Linked DNA regions of Homo sapiens: region 1 is linked to region 2. Evidence: promoter capture Hi-C in human tissues and cell types (Jung and others, 2019). All regions are on one chromosome and are shown on one strand. The core of a region is centred on a gene start or on the middle of the fragment in contact, and the rest is flanking DNA. Distances in the headings are between cores, read along the strand shown. Region 1 has its middle 12 kb from the start of SCYL1. Region 2 holds the start of CDCA5 (cell division cycle associated 5).

Region 1 (3,469 bases), core at 900-3,399, 430 kb after region 2:
TTGTGTGGATATACCATGAAATTATTTTTAAAAATATTGGCTGAGGGCTGGGCGCGGTGGCTCATGCCTGTAATCCCAGCACTTTGGGAGGCCGAGGAGGGTGGATCACCTGAGGTTAGGAGTTCGAGACCAGCCTAGTCAATATGGAGAAACCTCCTCGTCTCTACCAAAAATACAAAAATGTTACAAACCTCACATTCGACACATGTATCCCAGGACTTAAAGTTAAAAAAAAATTATCTGAGTGTGATGGCACATGCCTGTAATCCCAGGTACTCGGGAGGCTGAGGCAGGAGAATTGCTTGAACCAGCGAGGCAGAGATTGCAGTGAGCCGAGATCATGCCATTGCACTCCAGCCTGGCCAACAGTGAGATTCCATCTCAAAAAAAAAAAAAAAAAAAAATTAAGGCCAGTCTCAGTGGCTCACGCCTGTAACCCCAGCACTTTGGGAGGCCAAAATGGACAGAACACTTGAAGTCAGGGGTTTGAGACCAGCCTGGCCAATGTGGTAAAACCTTGTTTCTACTAAAAATACAAAAAAATTAGCTGGGCGTAGTGGCACACATCTGTAATCCCAGCTATTCGGGAGGCTGAGACATGAGAATCACTTGAACCCAGGAGGTAGAGATCACGTCACTGCACTCCAGCCTGGGTACCAGAGTGAGACTCTGTTTAAAAAAAAATAAAAATTAAGAGTGGCTGGGCATGGTGGCTCACGCCGGTAATCCAAGTACTTTGGAAGGCTGCAGAGGGTGGATCTCTTGAGGCCAAGAGTTTGAGACCAACATGGCCAACACAGCAAGACCAAAAATATACAAAAATTAGCCAGGCGTGGTGGCTGGCTCCTGTAATCCCAGCTATTTGGGAGGCTGAGGCATTGCTTGAACCCAGGAGGTGGAGGCTACATTAGGCCGAGATCGCACCACTGCACTCCAGCCTGGACAACAGAGCAAGACTCTGTCTCAAAAAACAACAACAACAAAAAAGAGATTGTGTCTTGCTTTGTTATCCAGGCTGGTCTTGAACTCCTGGACTCAAGGGATCCTCCCACCTCAGCCTCCCAAAGTGGGATTACAGGTGTGACCCACTGCACCCAGCACTGGTGTTTTTTGTTTTGTTTTGGGACATGGTCTCACTTTGTCGCTGTTGCTCAGGCCGCAGTTCAGTGGCAGGATCTCAGCTTACTGCAGCCTCTGCCTCCTGAGCTCAAGCCAGCCTCCCACCTGAGCCTCCCAAGTAGCTGGAACCATACAGGTGCATACCACCATGCCTAGCTAATTTTTTTTTTAGATGGAGTTTCACTCTTGTTGCCCAGGCTGGAATGCAATGGCACGATCTTGGCTCACTGCAACCTCCACCTCCCCAGTTCAAGCAATTCTCTTGCCTCAGCCTCCTGATTAGCTAGGATTACAGGCATGCACCACCATGCTAGGCTAATTTTGTATTTTTAGTAGAGATGGGTTTTCTCCATTTTGGTCAGGCTGGTCTCTAACTCCTGACCTCAGGTGGTCTGCCCGCCTTGGCCTACCAAAGTGCTGGGATTACAGGTGTGATCCACCGCACCCGGCCTTAATTTTTTTATTTTTAGTAGAGATGGGGTCTCTCCATGTTGCCCAGGATGGTCTGGAACTCCTGAGCTCGAGTGATCCTCCCGCCTCAGCCTTCCAAAGTGCTGAGATTACAGGTGTGAGCCGCCTCGCCTGGCCACAGTTGCGTATCTTCTTTGGTGAAGTGTCTGTTCATTTGTGTTGTGTTTTTCTCTTTTCTTTTCTTTTCTTTTCTTTTCTTTTTAAGACGGAGTCTCCGTCTGTCGCCCAGGCTAGAGTGCAGTGTTGCGATCTCGGTTCACTGCAACCTCCACCTCCCAGGTTCAAGCGATTCTCCTGCCTCAGCCTCCCAAGTACCTGGGATTGAAGGAGCGCCCCACCACGCCCGGCTAATTTTTGTTTTTTTAGTAGAGACCGGGTTTCACCAGGTTGGTCAGGCTGGTCTTGAACTCCTGACCTCAAATGATCCACCCACCACGGCCTCCCAAAGGTGTGAGCCACCGTGCCCAGCCATTTTGTGTTTTTTTTTTCTTGCCATTGTTGTTGGCATTTTTATCTTTTGTTGAGTTGTAAGGGCTTTTACATATTCGAGATAGAAGTCCCTTGTCAGATTTTTTTTCTTTTTTTACTTCTGTTGTATGTTTATTATTTATTTTGTATTTTTTGAGACGGAGTCTCGCTCTGTCGCCCAGGCTGGAGTGCAGTGGTGCAATCTCAGCTCACTGCAACCTCTGCCTCCCGGGTTCAAGCAATTCTCCTGCCTCAGCCTCCCAAGTGGCTGGGATTACAGGCATGCACCACCACACCCCACTAATTTTTGTATTTTTAGTAGAGACAGGGTTTCACAATGTCGGCCAGGCTGGTCTCAAACTCCTGACCTCAAGAGATCTGCCTGCCTTGGTCTCCCAAAGTGTTGGGATTACAGGCATGAGCCGCTGCCCGTGGCCTGTTTTATGTTTAGATATATGTTTTGCAAAAGTTTTATCCCAATATGTGTCTTTCTTTTCATTTTTTTGTAACAGTGTCTTTGAGGAGTAGAAGTTTTAAATCTCTTTTTTTAAATTTTTATTGTTACAAATGTTTACTTAATAAAAAGCTTAATATAAAAATGCACATGGCCCAGGCCGGGCGCGGTGGCTCATGCCTGTAATCCCAGCACTTTGGGAGGCCGAGGCGGGCTGATCACGAGGTCAGAAGATCAAGACCATCCTGGCTAACATGGTGAAACCCCGTCTCTACTAAAAATAATACAAAAAATTAGCCGGGCGTGGTGGCGGGCGCCTGTAGTCCCAGCTACTTGAGAGGCTGAGGCAAGAGAATGGCATAAACCCGGGAGGCAGAGCTTGCAGTGAGCCGAGATTGTGCCACTGCACTCCAGCCTGAGCGACAAAGGGAGACTCTGTCTCAAAAAAAAAAAAAAAAAAAAATGTACGTGGCCCAATTTTTACATCATAGTAAAACAAGTCCTTTGGAGAAGGGACTTGGATTTCTCTGCAGAGCCGCCATTGTTTATAGTTGTTCCAAGGCTTCTAATATGAGGATACTTCTCCCTCATCTTACCACTGTTCCAGGGTTGCTCTGTTGTCCACTAGTTGCCATCTTCACACTTTCATCTATCACAAGATTCATAAAGGGATCAAATCCCCAAAATATTCCTTGGATACATCTGCCATCATTTAATATTTTTTATTTTTTATTTTTTTGAGATGGAGTCTCACACTGTTGCCAGGCTAGAATGCAGTGGCTCGATCTTGGCTCACAGCAACCTCTGACTCCCTGGTTCAAGCGATTCTCCTGCCTCAGCCTCCAGAGTAGCTGGGACTACAGGCATGCGCCACCACGCCCAGCTAATTTTTGTATTTTTAGTAGAGACGGGTTTTCACCATGCTGGCCAAGATGGTCTCGATCTCTTGACCTGGTG
Region 2 (3,430 bases), core at 372-2,871:
TGCAAACATGGCTTCTTTGACCTGGAACAAACCTACTTGTCTTTTTTTTTTTTTTTTTTTTTGAGATGGAGTCTCGCTTTGTCACCCAGGCTGGAGTGCAGGGGCGTGATCTCGGCCCACTGCAACCTCCGCCTCCTGGGTTTAAGCGATTCTCCTGCCTCAGCCTCCTGAGTAGCTGGGACTATAGGCACGTGCCACCATGCCTGGCTAATTTTGTATTTTTAGTAGACACAGGGTTTCACCACGTTGGCCAGGCTGGTCTTAAACTCTTGACCACAAGTGATCTGCCCGCCTCAGCCTCCCAAAATGCTAGGATCACAAGCGTGAGCCACTGCACCCGGCCTCTACTTGTCTTTAAAGACTCAGTTCAAATGTTTCTTCTTCCACGAAACATTCCCTGAGCCACATGGTCTGGGTTAGCTACCATCATAGCATCTAGTATTCCTTATTGCAGTCCCAGTACACAACGTTGCTATCACTTGTCATTGGTCTTTCTCCCCAGTTGACTCTAAGCCCTATCAGCTCTTCAAAGGAGTTCACATTTCTCAGTCAGTATGTCTTCAGATTGTCTATTAATGAAACATCCTTTGATAATAACTTCTGCTAAAACTGTAAAAATGTCATACACATGACTTATCTCAGAACACCCATACATGAAAGCTGAAGGCATAATGGATTAGAAAGGCAGTACGTGGAGTTAAGACATAGCTCAGCTTTTAAAGGAAGTTCCAGGAAAATGGTAGAAATACACAAGGCATAAAAAGTTAAGTGTATTAAGTCTTCAGGGAGTAATCAAGACTGGCAATGCATGCAGGTGCCCACAGGCAAACTGTTTTTGCAGTACTGCAAAACAGCTCCCTGGGCAGATGTGAGGAGCCAATGTGTGCTGTCCAGCTCTAGAGTGACCCAGATTCTACTTAATTAAGTAGATGAAAGTGAACTCACCCTAGGGCTCCTGCGAGGTGATTGGACAGCTGGGACCTGCGGGGGACAATACCAATTGATCACATAGCTGGTCCCCAGTTTTGCCCGCCTAACCACCCACAACACTCTCCTTAGCCTTTACCTCTACAGCATGGGCCACGATCCTCTTTAAGACGATGGGCTTTCTGACTGCAGCCGCACTGGGTGTCTGGAGAAGAGGGATGAACGTGAGCTCAACATTAGGTGAGGGGCCACAAGGGGAGGAAGTGAGAAATCTGGGGCTCACCTTCGGCCAGATTTCAGGGAGGATGCTCGGGAGTTCAGAGCCTGATTTCCGCTGGGACCTCCGCAGAGGCTTAGTAGGAGATGGGGCCCTTGGCCCTGGAAAGAGAAAAAAGTTAAGTGGTAGAGGAGGACTCTAGACCTTAGAGTCCAGAGAACAGGTTCTAGAGACAGCGAGAAGATTCCCAAACAAGCCCTTTTAAGGGCGCCTCCTCCGGCGGCGGCAGCGGGAGGGAAGAGGCCATCTTTCACCGGACTGCGTCCCCCAAACGGCTCGACCTCACGTCTCCCGCGCGCCCTCCGCTCACCGGAGCGCTGAGCGGCTCCTCCGGACCGCGTTCGCCTCCCAGACATAACTTAGGCTCCGTCTCGAGCTCCTCCAGCGCCGCCGCCCCGGGCGCGCGCCAACCGGGAAGGCCACTCGCTGCAAAAAACGTTCGAATTACCCGCCCTGCGGGAAAGGAAGCGGAAGTGACGTAGGGCTAGCGGTCTGCGGCCCTCGGAACCCCGAGTCTTTTCCACCCGTCTTCACCTCTAGCGGCAGCGGAGGCGTGGCCCAGGGGCGCGATGGCGTCATCAGCGCGCGCCGCACCCGGAAGAGACGTGGCAGCGGAGGGATAATCGGGGCGGCCGGGGCTGAAGGGAGAGGCGCAGGAGCCCTGGGGAGAGTGGTCCCTGCCCTTCCGCGCCTCGAGCCATCGCTACCGCCCTTCGGAACCAGTGCAGCGGCCGATCAGTAAACACAGAGACTGGGGTCTGTAGAGAAGGGGCGGGACTTGGAGGGGGTGGGGCTCAGGAGAGGTCTTGGGGGCGGGGCCGGTAGTATCGGGGAGCCTCTGATGGAGGGGCCTGGCCGGGGGCGGGATCCAGAAGGATTGAGGGGTCGCCGGAGGCGGGATTTATGCAGGGGGTGTTTCTCCGCATAAGGAGGGACAGTGGGCAGGAATCTGAGATCGGGGCGAATATGAGAGGTGTCTGGGGGAGTTAAGAGTGGAAACTGGGCTGGTGAGAGCGTAGTGGTGGCCACCAGAACCTGACTTCCTACCAACTCATGCCCCTTTCCCAGGATCGATCATGGGGCTTTGTAAGTGCCCCAAGAGAAAGGTGACCAACCTGTTCTGCTTCGAACATCGGGTCAACGTCTGCGAGCACTGCCTGGTAGCCAATCACGCCAAGGTGGGGCCTTCAGGGGAGCGACTGAGCAGGGCACTGGGTGGGCAAGGCGGTATTGGCTTCCTCCAAATCCATGAGGGGCCCCGCGCTAGAATGTAAGCCCCACAAGGGCAAGGACTTGATTTATTTTGTTCACTGATATATCCCCCGTTCCCAAGAGAGAGTCTGGTGCACAGTATGTGCTCAATAAATATTTATTGATTAAACAAACGAAAGGATGAGTCTCCTCTGTGGCTAGAGAAAAAGAGACAGTCGGACCTTGGGGTGATAGGCCGAGCAGCCCCAGCACCAGTTGTGACATCTCTCTCCCACTCCAGTGCATCGTCCAGTCCTACCTGCAATGGCTCCAAGATAGCGACTACAACCCCAATTGCCGCCTGTGCAACATACCCCTGGCCAGCCGAGAGACGACCCGCCTTGTCTGCTATGGTGAGGCCTTGGCACCTCGGGGGGATCAGGCCAGCCTCAGGGGCCAGCTTGGTGACTGGTTTCCAGGCCCTCCTCAAGCAGCAGGACAGTGAGTCCCCCGAGTCTCAGAGCCCAGATTCTAGTCCTGTTAAAGTTCCTTACCTGCTGTGTAAGTTCAGGCAAGTTATTCTTCCTTTCTAGGCCTCACTGTCTTTCCTAAAAATTAAAGCTCCTAGTTCCTCTTTCCTAAAAATTAAGCCCTGCCAATCTGGAGGTTTCAGCGAGAACCAGTCAAGCTTACGGGTATGCTGGTGGCCGTGACTATTAGCTAGCCAGACCGGCATGTTGCTTTCAGATATTCAGGATCCACCACTGATTCCAAGGCTAAACAGAGAGGAAGTGAGTTTCCCACATTAAAGTTAGCTAAAAGAAGTCAGCAGACATATGTGTCATGACTTTGACCTGAATCTGGGGTAAGAGCCTTAGCTCCAGTTTTTGAAGGAGCTCATGCAAGAGTCAGCTCCATATGTGTTTCTCCTTGTGAGTGCATGTGTGTACTTGCAGGCACTTAATGTACATTGTGTGTTTAAATGAGTGTTAGTGTGTTGATCTGTACTTGGGGTGAATGAATGGGTAAATGTAT

The links. The method cuts DNA at HindIII sites, captures the fragments that hold promoters and counts their contacts. A contact is called where the count stands out against the background at its distance.
Region 1: a contact is called between a fragment that was not itself captured here and the fragment with the promoter of CDCA5 in region 2, in 1 of the 25 tissues and cell types used here (hippocampus).

Annotation. Positions count from the first base shown.
Region 1 is chr11:65,511,343-65,514,811 of GRCh38, forward strand. It overlaps the pseudogene SNRPGP19. Among named protein-coding and RNA genes, the nearest start is that of SCYL1, 12 kb to the right of the region's middle. The HindIII fragment of the contact is 7,969 bases long and covers 1-3,469 here.
Region 2 is chr11:65,082,419-65,085,848 of GRCh38, forward strand. It overlaps CDCA5 (cell division cycle associated 5), which reads right to left and starts at 1,622. Exons shown (of 6, transcript NM_080668.4): 1 at 1,515-1,622; 2 at 1,211-1,305; 3 at 1,067-1,132; 4 at 946-981. The coding sequence starts at 1,560. ZFPL1 (zinc finger protein like 1) reads left to right here and starts at 1,804. Exons shown (of 8, transcript NM_006782.4): 1 at 1,804-1,960; 2 at 2,273-2,382; 3 at 2,697-2,808. The coding sequence starts at 2,281. RefSeq lists enhancers at 1,354-1,583, 1,664-1,933, 2,523-3,107. The HindIII fragment of the contact is 10,147 bases long and covers 1-3,430 here.